Regions from separate parts of the Homo sapiens genome. Here regions 1 and 2 are each linked to region 3. Evidence: promoter capture Hi-C in 16 types of primary human blood cells and fetal thymus (Javierre and others, 2016). All regions are on one chromosome and are shown on one strand. The core of a region is centred on a gene start or on the middle of the fragment in contact, and the rest is flanking DNA. Distances in the headings are between cores, read along the strand shown. Region 1 overlaps EXD1 (exonuclease 3'-5' domain containing 1). Region 2 overlaps NUSAP1 (nucleolar and spindle associated protein 1). Region 3 holds the start of DLL4 (delta like canonical Notch ligand 4).

What was found. Contacts are between HindIII fragments. The CHiCAGO score rates a contact against its expected background, and 5 or more counts as called.
Region 1: a fragment that was not itself captured here is called in contact with the fragment with the promoter of DLL4 in region 3 in 1 of 17 cell types (erythroblasts); the score reaches 5.4 in erythroblasts.
Region 2: a contact is called between a fragment that was not itself captured here and the fragment with the promoter of DLL4 in region 3, in 1 of 17 cell types (endothelial precursors). The highest score is 5.3, in endothelial precursors.

Annotation. Positions count from the first base shown.
Region 1 is chr15:41,208,123-41,211,705 of GRCh38, forward strand. It overlaps EXD1 (exonuclease 3'-5' domain containing 1), which reads right to left. Exons shown (of 12, transcript NM_001286441.2): 7 at 1,379-1,465. Among named protein-coding and RNA genes, the nearest start is that of EXD1, 21 kb to the right of the region's middle. The HindIII fragment of the contact is 2,807 bases long and covers 122-2,928 here.
Region 2 is chr15:41,357,382-41,361,338 of GRCh38, forward strand. NUSAP1 (nucleolar and spindle associated protein 1) reads left to right here. Exons shown (of 11, transcript NM_016359.5): 6 at 768-877. Among named protein-coding and RNA genes, the nearest start is that of NUSAP1, 26 kb to the left of the region's middle. The HindIII fragment of the contact is 1,388 bases long and covers 777-2,164 here.
Region 3 is chr15:40,927,611-40,931,712 of GRCh38, forward strand. DLL4 (delta like canonical Notch ligand 4) reads left to right here and starts at 1,730. Exons shown (of 11, transcript NM_019074.4): 1 at 1,730-2,124; 2 at 2,237-2,506; 3 at 3,015-3,072; 4 at 3,893-4,102. The coding sequence starts at 2,059. RefSeq lists silencers at 872-941, 1,535-1,624. The HindIII fragment of the contact is 7,449 bases long and covers 1-3,037 here.

The sequences.
Region 1 (3,583 bases), core at 275-2,774, 280 kb after region 3:
ACTGCCCAGACCTGTGTTACCAGGAAGTCTACTCTCTTTTGTTTTGGTAGATGGAAGTTTAGGGTTGTTTTAAGTAATTTGTATTTGTGCTGCTAATTCAAACCTAGTCATCTAAAAGCTAAGCTTGGCTAGCTGCAGTGGCTCATGCCTGTAACCCCAGCACTTTGCGGTTAGGCTGACTCAGAAGGATTGCTTGAGACCAGGAGTTTGAGACCAGCCTGGACAATATAGGGAGAACTCATCTCTGAAAAAAAAAAAAAAAAAAAAAAAAGTAAAGGAAGAGGGACCCAAAAGCTATCCATCCTCTAGCTATTCTTCAAGGCTAACTACAAACTTTTAAAAAATATTGGCCAGGGGTGGTGGCTCACGTCTGTAATCCTAGTACTTTGGGAGGCCGAGGTGGGTGGATCACTTGAGATCAGGAGTTTGTGACCAGCCTGGCCAACATGGTGAAACCCCGTCTCTACTAAAAACACAAAATTAGCCAGGTGTGGTGGCGCATGCCTATAGTCCCAGCTACCCAGGAGGCTGAGGCAGGAGAACCGCTTGAACCCAGGAGGCGGAGGTTGCAGCGAGCCGAGATGCACCACTGCACCCCAGCCTGGTGACAGAGCAAGACTTTGTCTCAAAATAATAATAATAATAGTAATAATAATAGAGACTCTCATTTAATATCTCCCAGGTCCAGGGAAACTAAAATGATGTGGTGAGAAACCTGCTGTGGAAAGCTACCACCCCAGAATGAAAAGAGACGACACTCTTCATAGAACTAAGGTGATAGAACAGAACTGGGAAAGACCTCCAGCAGAGCCCGAGAGACAGCACTAATGGCTTTAACAGCGAACCTATTCTTGCTACTGAGCTTAAAAAAAAAAACAAAGTGAATCTATAAGGAGACAGAAGCTCTCTCCTTTTGAAAAGAATAAAGTGAGTACCAGGAGAAGGAAGAACATTCCAACAAGTTATGCAACAATGACACTAGGGTGACAGAAAGAAGACAATTAATAAATCTACCAGTGAGCCAGGTGCAGTGGCCTATCCCTGTAATCCCAGTGACTAGGGGGGCTAAAGCAAGAGGATTACATGAGGCCAGGAGTTTGAGATCAGCCTGGGCAACACAGCAAGACCCCATCTCAAAAAAACAAAGCTGGGTGTGGTGACATGCATCTGTAGTCCCAGCTACTCAGGAGGCTAAAGTGAGGATAGACAGCATGAGCCCAGGAGTTCAATGCTGCAGTGATCTATGATCTGCACTGTGGCCTCAGTGACAGAGTGAGATCCCATCTCTAAAATACAGTTTTCAAAAAGAAGGAAAGAAAAAAATCTACCAGTGGCTCTATAATTACTTCAAAATAAAAAGTTTTCAAAAATCTTTCACCTGCAGCCAGCACAGTTTGCCATGGCGACATACATTCGCTCCTTCTGCTGCCACACTCAGGACATTCTGCTTCTTGATATGGAGTATCTGGTAAGAAAAAGAAGGAAAGGAAAAACTTTCAGGGAATAAATGTTGGCATGATAACATCATGATTGGCACAAATACAATGGTCAGCAGTAAACAAAGTGCATCATCTTTGTTAAACTTACAAAATTTGATTAATCCAAAACAGTCTGTTTTACACATGCAAATAAATCAGCACTGAATACTTCTGATTCTTTTTTTTTGTTTTAGCAAAAGTGTTCCACAGCTGGAAAATAAATCACTCAGACCCCAAATGACAATAAGAGTTGAGAACTCAGACACCTTTTGTTACCACTGATGCTACAGAGAAAGAATCATAATCTGTTTTTATATTTTAAATTGAGACAGAGTTTCACTCTTGTTGCTAGGCTGGAGTGCAATGGCACGATCTTGACTTGCAACCTCCACCTCTCAGTGGATCAAGAGAATCAAGTGATTCTCTTCCCTCAACCTCCCAAGTAGCTGGGATTACAGGCATGCACCACCACGCCCAGCTAATTTTGTATTTTTAGTAATGACAGGGTGTCACTATGTTGGTCAGGCTGGTCTCAAACTCCTGACCTCAAGTGATCTACCTGCCTCGGCCTCCCAAAGTGCTGGGATTACAGGTGTGAGCTACCAAGCCTGGCCCTGAATTATAATCTTTAAGACAAGATTCCTCATGCAAACTATGGCATGCCCTAACACAGGGCAATTTACCACAACTGAAAGGAATATAGGTGGTGGCTAAGTCTCAGAGTATCCACTGCTCAGAAAGACAGAAACAAGGACTCTTCAGGTCCCTTAAAGCCTCGGATTCACTGAATTACTCAAAACTGAAATAGTGGCTGGGCGCAGTGGCTCATGCCTATAATCCCAGCACTTTGGGAGGCTGAGGAAGGAGGATCGTTTGAGCCCAAGGGTTTCAGACCAGACTGGGCAAAACAGTGTCTGTACAAAAAATACAAAAAATTATCCAGGCATGGTGGTGCACACCTGCAGTGTAGCCCCAGCTACTCAGGAGGCTAAAGTGGGAGGATCACTTGAGCCTGGGAGGCTGAGGCTGCAGTGAGCCATGATGATGCACTTCAGCCTGTGTAAAAAAAAAAACACAAAACACTGAAATAGTGGTACCCCAGGTACACACTCTTGTCCTTTGATTATCTATAATCTTACCCTATTTCATTATACAATTCTATAATCCTTAATCCATAATTCATAAAAATATTTGCATGATAAAAGATTCTCCCCATTTTATAGGTAGTTCAATTATTCAATAACAGAAAGGCATAGTAATTTACACTAGCAACATATCTCCCTTTAGAGAGCATAAAGTGTTCTCAATTCTGAGTATCTCTCATCAATGATGAGAAAATGGCACTGAATTTCAGCTTCATTCCCAATCAGATGGCTGCAGAACCGGCAACAAAAGCTGCATTCTCTACTGATGAGAATTCCTAATTACCTCTTCAAACTTCCAGAGCAAAAGCTTCTTTTTTTGTTTTTTGTTTTGTTTTGTTTTGTTTTTGAGACAGTCTCATGCTGTCCTCCAGGCTGGAGTGCAGATCATAGCTCACTGTGGCATGAACTCCTGGGCTCAAGCTATCCTCCTACTTTAGCTTCCTGCAGCTTCGACCTCCGGGGCTTAGCTGATCCTCTCATCTCAGCCTCCCGGGTAGCTGAAACTACAGACCTGTGCCACCATGCCCAGCTAATTTTTTGTATTTTTTGTAGGGGTGGGTTTGCCTTGTTGCCCAGGCTGGTCTGTAACTCCTGGGCTCAAGTGATCTGCCTGCCTTGGCCTCCAAAAGTGCTGGTATTACAAGACTGAGCCACCACGCCTGGCCACAAGTTCTTACCCTCATTTTTTTTTTTATTGTTGTCACGGACACTTTAAAGAATCTGTTGATACATAAATAATACTTACAACTCAATGATAAAAATAATTATTTCAACTCAATTAAAAAACAGCAAAAGGTTTGGGCAGGGTGGCTCATGCCTGTATTCCTAGCAGTGAAGGAGGCTGAGGAGGACAGATTGCTTGAGCCCAGGAGTTCGAGACCAGCCAGGGCAACATAGTGAGAAATTGTCTCTACACAAAATACAAAAATTAAGGCTGGGCGCAGTGGCTCACGCCTGTAA
Region 2 (3,957 bases), core at 221-2,720, 430 kb after region 3:
AATAACATAAAAACAAGAAGAATATGAGACAGAGACCATACCATATGTGGCCATAAAGCCTAAAATACTTTTTTTTTTTGAGACGAAGTTTTGCTCTTGTTGCCCAGGCTGGAGTGCAATGGCGCAATCTAGGCTCACTGCAACCTCCACCTCCCGGGTTCAAGCGATTCTCCTGCCTCAGTGTCCCGAGTAGCTGGGATTACAGGCGTGCGCCACCACACCTGGCTAATTTTTGTATTTTTAGTAGAGATGGGGTTTCTCCATGTTGGTCAGGCTGGTCTCGAACTCCTGACCTCAGGTGATCTGACCGCTTTGGCTTCCCAAAGTGCTGAGATTACAGGTGTTGAGCCACCATGACCAGCCAAGTCTTAAATACTTTTATCTAGCCCTTTATAGAATAAATTTGTCAGTCCTTGACATACAGCATTATAAAATATCAAATTCATTATTAAATAAAGACCACTTGTGACTAATTGGTAGGGGAGAAGATAAATCTTCTACTCTAATCCTCTGGATTAAACCAAGATGTCAATTTAGTGAAATTTGTCAGTGGGGAGATGGTGAATGTTTGATAGTTTATAAGATGAATGTGCTTTGCCCCTGAGTTTCCAAAAACTAAGTATTTTGAAATTAATGTTTTAGCAAAAATTATATTGAAGTTGAATGTCAGGGATGCAAAGAAGAGAATAAGTGTTAACAGAAAAACACAGAGAAGATAAATAAATGGATTTTGTTTTGTTATTAATTTTTATATTGGAACATTCTAGACTTTAAGAAGCTTCATGAAGCTCATTTTAAGGAAATGGAGTCCATTGATCAATATATTGAGAGAAAAAAGAAACATTTTGAAGAACACAATTCCATGAATGAACTGAAGGTATGTAGATAAAATTATGTTCTTAATGGAACTAAACTGTTTGATTATAATTTTGAAACTATATAACACCGTGGTTACAACAACTGGCTGTCACTCTACCAGTAGATTTGTTTGAATTTAATATATCTTTATCTAAAACTTGCTTTCCCCTACCCTGAGAATTTTCAAAGTCCTCTAGATAAAACAGTGAATCCATGGCCAAGCGCAGTGGCTCATGCCTGTAATCCCCGCACTTTGGGAGGCCAAGGCAAGTGGATTACCTCAGGTCAGGAGTTCAAGGCCAGCCTGGGCAACATGGTGAAACCCTGTCTCTACAAAAAATACAGAAAATTAGTAGGGGGTGGCACATGGCTGTAATCCCATCTACTCAGGAGGCTGAGGCAGGAGAATCACTTGAACCAGGAGGCCAACATTGCAGTGAGCTGAGATCGCGCCACTGCACTCCAGCCTGGGTGACAGAGTGAGACTCCGTCTCAAAAAAAAAGAAAACAGTGAATCCTGACTATGAGAAACTATTTCCAAAATGGCAATGTCATTCTACTTTCCATATTCAGATGTTTTGCCTATTACTTTCATTGATGATGAACCAACTTATGGCTGAAGCCATCTTCTTTCCCTCGTCCCTTATGTAAAGGAAAATGGGTGATTAATAGTGGCAAACCTGAAGGGTTCCTGTGGTAACAGCTCCCTCGAGGGCTTTCAGTCCAGGTTCCACAGGACTCAAAGCCTCCTCAAGTAAGAGAAGGTGATAAAGTCAACTCTGAGGCTGAGTTAGCAAAGTAGTGAGTAACATTCTAGCAAGTTGATGTTATTGGTATCTGGTGTTAAGGCAGTGCCGAATGGAGGGCAGGAAACACATTTTTAAATATTTATGGATTTATGTATTTTTCTCATAAAGACAGGGTCTCCCTATGATTCCCAGGCTCTCCTTGAACGCCTAGGCTCAAGTGATCCTCCCACCTCAGCCTCCCAAAGTGCTGGGATTACAGGTGTGAGCCACCAGATTATATTTATTTCTATTCGCTGTATTTAATTCTTAACCCCATGTTTATTTTACATAACTTCCCTATTTCTCAAAAAGAATTTAAGGCCTATTCTCAAAATAATGTAAGTTTATGGTATTAAATATAAAATAGTATAGTCAATTTAAAAGCGGCAGAAAATTAGCACTGTTAGTAGGTACAGTATTTACTACCATCAGTCACTCAGCTGAGTTTAAGTTTTCTGGCAGCTAGGGCCAAGAGGAAAACTCACTGGGTGATAAATTGTAAATAATTTAAGTACTTAAGCTTCTTGGTGAGAAGCTTAATTGAAATAATAAACATTCATTTTAACGATGTAAAACCACTGTTACAACCATTTTTTTTCTTTTCTTTTCTTTTTTTTTTTTGAGACAGAGTTTCGCTCTTGTTGCCCAGACTGGAGGGCAATGGTACAGTCTCAGCTCACTGCAACCTCTGCCTCCCTGATTCAAGTGATTTTCCTGCCTTTAGCCTCCCCAGTAGCTGAGATTACAGGCGCCCACCACCACACCCAGCTAATTTTTTTATTTTTAGTAGAGACGGGTTTTCACCATGTTGGCCAGGCTGGTCTTGAACTCCTGACCTCAGGTGATCAACCCACCTCCCAAAGTGCTGGTATTACATGCATGAGCCATTGCTCCCATCCTCACTGTTACCACATTTGAAGGCACTGTTTGTCAAACTTTTTTTTTTTTTGAGACTCAGTCTCACTCTGTCACCCAGGCTGGAGTGCAATGGTGCGATCTTGCCTCACTGGAACCTCTGCTTCCCGGATGCAGCAGATTATTTTGCCTCAGCCTCCCAAGTAGTTGGGATTACAGGTGCCCACCACCACACCCAGCTAATATTTGTATTTGTAATTTTATTTATTTTTTTTAGATGGAGTCACATTGTGTTGCCCAGGCTGGAGTGCAGTGACACAATATTGGCTCATTGCAACCTCCACCTCCTGGATTCAAGTGATTCTCCCACCTCAGCCTCCCAAGTACCTGGGATTACAGGCAACCACCACCACACCCGGCTAATTTTTGTTTGTTTGTTTGTTTGTTTGTTTTGACACAGTTTCACTCTTCTTGCCCAGACTGGAGTGCAATGGCGTGATCTTGGCTCACCACAACTTCCACCTCCCAGGTTCAAGCAATTCTCCTGCCTCAGCCTCCTGAGTAGCTGGGATTATAGGTGCCTGCCACCACGCCTGGCTAATTTTTTGTATTTTTAGTAGAGACGGGGTTTCACTATGTTGGCCAGGCTAGTCTTGAACTCCTGACCTTGTGATCCACCTGCCTCAGCCTCCCAAAGTGCTGGGATCACAGGCATAAGCCACGGCGCCCAGCCCCTGCTAATTTTTATATTTTCAGTAAAGATGGGGTTTCACCATGTTGGCCAGGCTGGTCTCGATCTCCTGACTTCAGGTGATCCACCCACCTCAGCCTCCCAAAGTGCTGGGATTACAGGCGTGAGCCACCACTCCTGTCCTCACTGTTACCACATTTGAAGGCACTGTTTATCCATCTTTTTTTTTTTTTTTTTTTTGCGATGAGTCTCACTGTGTCACTCAGGCTGGAGTGCAGTGGTGCGATCTTGGCTCACTGCAACCTGCACCTCCCGGGTTCGACAGATCTTGCCAGCATGGCAAAACCCTGTCTCTACTAAAAATACAAAAATTACCTGGCCATGGTGGTGGGTGCCTGTACTCCCAGCTACTCAGGAAGCTGAGACAGGAGAATCGCTTGAACCCAGGAGGTGGAGGTTGCAGTGCATGGAGGTCACACCACTGCACTCCAGCCTGGGCAACAGACCAAGACTCCATCTCAAAAAACAAAAAAAATAGGCCAGGGCGTGGTGGCTCACACCTGTAATCCCAGTACTTTGGGAAGCTGAGGCAGGCGGATCACCTGAGGTCAGGGGTTTGAGACCAGCCTGACCAACATGGAGAAACCCCATCTTTACTAAAAATACAAAATTATCTTGGCATGGTGGCGCATGTCTGTAATCCCAGCTACTCGGGAGGCTGAGGCAGGAGAATTGCTTGAACCCGGGAGGCAGAGGTTGCGGTGA
Region 3 (4,102 bases), core at 480-2,979:
GGGCCTGGGACTCCGCCTGCCCATAACCTACATTAACTCCCGAGCGCAGCCTGGGCCCATCTGCCGCCCCGCCCCACCTCGGTTCCCCACGCCAACCCGCTCGCGCCAGATGGTGGCTGGGAGGGGTGGCCGTGCGTGGGGGACCCCGGAGCCCGTCTCCTCACCTCGCCCCTCCCCCAACCCACGCTCCCAACCTCTTGTTTCTCATCCTTCCCCCCCCCACCACACCCGTCCCCCAGTCCTCCACCACCACCACCCAACTCAAAAAAAAAAATCAGACCATGCTCGGCATTGGCAGCTGTTGGGCTTCTCGCCGCTCCCCCACCCTTACCGCCTCCCCCGGGTTCGCGCCGCGTCCCGGCTCCCCCCCCGCGCTGATCTTACCGCCCGACTACAGCCATCACCTCGCGGGCGGGCTGACAGCTGAAGCCACAGGGCCCCCGCTGCCCTCGGCGTCGCAAAGAGAGAGCTCCCCGGCACCCCTGAGACTGGGAGAAGCCGGCCCTCCCCGGTCTGCGGTCTCCGGGGATCACGCCGGGTTCCGAGAAAGCAGCTGCGCTGCTGCCGCTTGGAGGAGTGGGGCCACCCAGGGGACCCTCTCGGGCGAGACTTGGGAAGCCGCCTGAAACTCAAACAGCTCCGCAAGCCTCCAGTTCCACCCCACATCCCGCCTTATGAGGCGAGGACCCGGGCCGACCCGGCCTCAGTCCCTCACCTTGATTCTCCAGTGGCCTGAGCCAACTCTGGCGTCAGGAGAGTTCCTCCTTGCCCCAGCTGAGCGACAGGGCGCGGCCGGGGGCTTGGGGCTGCTGGGGTGGGGGGAGGCAGTGGGCGCAGGAACTGAAGCTGGACTCAGGTGAGGGGACGCGCTGGAGGCGGGGCCAGAACCTCATTACCATACAGCTGAGGACGCGCCCCCCTCCTACCTCCGGGACCACGCCCCGCCCTCCCCCACCTCAGGGACCGCGCGTCTGGGTCTCTGGCACGCGCCAAGCCCTGGCAGGGGGCAGAAGGGAGAAGGCACGCGCTGGGCACGCCCCCCCTTAGCTAGAGAGGGAGACGCCCAACAGGTGCACAGAGAGGGCCCCGAGCCTTAGACCCTTAGCCCCTAGCCTTGCTCAGAGTGGCCACAGAGAGGTTAACGCTTCTGCTGGCTTCCCTGCTGCGCTGGGGACGCGTGGTGGGTGGGCACTCATAGGTTGGGGGCCGTTGAGACAAGGGCTCCAGAAGCTCCAGGAAGGAAAAGGAGATCGGATTTCCCTAGCGCTGGTTTTTGCATTCCGGGCTTAAGTTCTTTTTACCTGCTTTGGAACACTAGGTAACTAGCGCCTGCTGCGGATGCACAGCCTACAGGGACTGCCTAGTGTCTCCGCCCCCAAGACCATCCCCGAACCACCCACTCACCTCCTGCCCCATTACCGGGCAACCCCTCTATCCTCCGGCGGCCAGGGTCTCAGCCCTTAACCCCGCCATCACGGAGGACTGGTCACCTCGGCACGCGCAGAGCTGGGGGACCTAGAGGTTGGGAGCGGCACGGAGGGGCGGGGACCTGCGCCCGACTGGCTGACGGGGAGGGGGGAGCGGCGGGGGCGGAGGCCCCCTCCGGGCGGCGCTGGGACTGTAGCAGCTAGAGGCCGGGAGGGGAGGGGAGAATGACCATGAGTCTGAGTGACAGGCGGCGAGGAGAGGAGCCAATATATATAAGGAAGGCCCCCAGCGCGCAGGTTTCAGTAGCGGCGCTGCGCGCAGGCCGGGAACACGAGGCCAAGAGCCGCAGCCCCAGCCGCCTTGGTGCAGCGTACACCGGCACTAGCCCGCTTGCAGCCCCAGGATTAGACAGAAGACGCGTCCTCGGCGCGGTCGCCGCCCAGCCGTAGTCACCTGGATTACCTACAGCGGCAGCTGCAGCGGAGCCAGCGAGAAGGCCAAAGGGGAGCAGCGTCCCGAGAGGAGCGCCTCTTTTCAGGGACCCCGCCGGCTGGCGGACGCGCGGGAAAGCGGCGTCGCGAACAGAGCCAGATTGAGGGCCCGCGGGTGGAGAGAGCGACGCCCGAGGGGATGGCGGCAGCGTCCCGGAGCGCCTCTGGCTGGGCGCTACTGCTGCTGGTGGCACTTTGGCAGCAGGTAACACGTCCCGCGCCCTCTCCGTCCCCTCTGCCGCGCTCTGGGCCTCAGCCCCGGGCACCAGCTGAGCTGACCGGTCCCCTCCCTCCTTCCCTCGGTCCCTGTGCAATAGCGCGCGGCCGGCTCCGGCGTCTTCCAGCTGCAGCTGCAGGAGTTCATCAACGAGCGCGGCGTACTGGCCAGTGGGCGGCCTTGCGAGCCCGGCTGCCGGACTTTCTTCCGCGTCTGCCTTAAGCACTTCCAGGCGGTCGTCTCGCCCGGACCCTGCACCTTCGGGACCGTCTCCACGCCGGTATTGGGCACCAACTCCTTCGCTGTCCGGGACGACAGTAGCGGCGGGGGGCGCAACCCTCTCCAACTGCCCTTCAATTTCACCTGGCCGGTGAGCACAGCCTGGGCGCACTGGGAGGTCGCAGAAGCCGAGAGAGGAGGCGCCCTGGGACCAAAGCCCCCTCCCCAGATTTCCTTGTACACACACCCCCACCCCCAAAAAGCCCAGGATGCATTCTTTCCTGGCTCTTCCCGACTCTCTCCTGAGACTGATCCCAGAAAAGGCTCTCACCAGTCTCCGTCTTCCCAGTTTATGTCCTCCCGTCCCCAGCTCTTGGGACACGATTTTCATTACCTACCACTCTGGGGCGGTACCCTACCACCCCCTCCTCCAGTGGCTCTCCCTTACACTCTCCCGTCTCTCAACCCTCCCTCTACCGGGGGTTCTCCTCTCGCCTTCCCTGCTCAAGCGCTACACTGTGCACAGCCCCGTTATGTTGACCCGGGCGCAGTAACTGAATCCTGCAATTAGATTAATTAAACAGGCTGCCGCAAGGCACCCCCACCTCTCCCCGCTTGCTCATCTCGCCATCTCTCCGTCCCCCCACCCCCTTTCCCAGGGTACCTTCTCGCTCATCATCGAAGCTTGGCACGCGCCAGGAGACGACCTGCGGCCAGGTGAGTAGCTCGCTCCGCCACCACAGGGGGGCGACACGGCGCAGCGCCGAAAGAGTTAATCTGTTCTAGGCGGGGGAAGTGCGGGCTTGGGGGTGGGAGGCAGGACGCTTAGCTTGGCCTGGAGCTGCGCCCCGCGCTGGACGCTCGGATTCCGCTCGCTGCCTGGACTCAGAGCACAATTGCGTTTCCTGCGGGTTATTTTTGGCGTGGGAACGCGGGGAGTACGGCGGTGAGAAAGGCTGAAGCTGCCAGCGCCGCTGACGGGCCCCTTCCTGTATTTTACACCTTTCGCGAATTCCGCTCCTTTGGAAAGGGAATAATGGCTTTGGGATGTTGTTCTGACACAGAGGAAAAGGATATTTCAGCAGCACAACAATTCTCACTTTGAAAAGGAAAAAAGAAAACCATTACCCACCTCTGGAGGCAGAACCCCTGAATGGGCACCAAAGGACCCCCTGCTCCCAGGGTCCTCTCTAGCCTGGGGAGCTTTTCTTTCTTTTTCTCTTTTTTCCATTTTGACCTCTTTTCCTCTTTCCCCTCCCTATCTGCCTCCAAGACCCTGGGATATCTTAACATCCTTCTATTGTCCCCTTTTTGAATACTATCAGGCCCCCTGCACATGCACACACGTAGGGCAGCTACGTAGCGGGGCTTTGGGTCCCTCTGGCCTGTTCTTGCTGGCAGGCGGGGGTCATCTGGATAACTGGGCTGATTGGTTGGCTGATCACCATCATCACAGCCAAGAAGGACATTGGCCAGCCGTCACTGGCACCCTTGGGGACTGGCGACCCTTCCCTGACCCGACCCTCTGCCCCCTCAGAGGCCTTGCCACCAGATGCACTCATCAGCAAGATCGCCATCCAGGGCTCCCTAGCTGTGGGTCAGAACTGGTTATTGGATGAGCAAACCAGCACCCTCACAAGGCTGCGCTACTCTTACCGGGTCATCTGCAGTGACAACTACTATGGAGACAACTGCTCCCGCCTGTGCAAGAAGCGCAATGACCACTTCGGCCACTATGTGTGCCAGC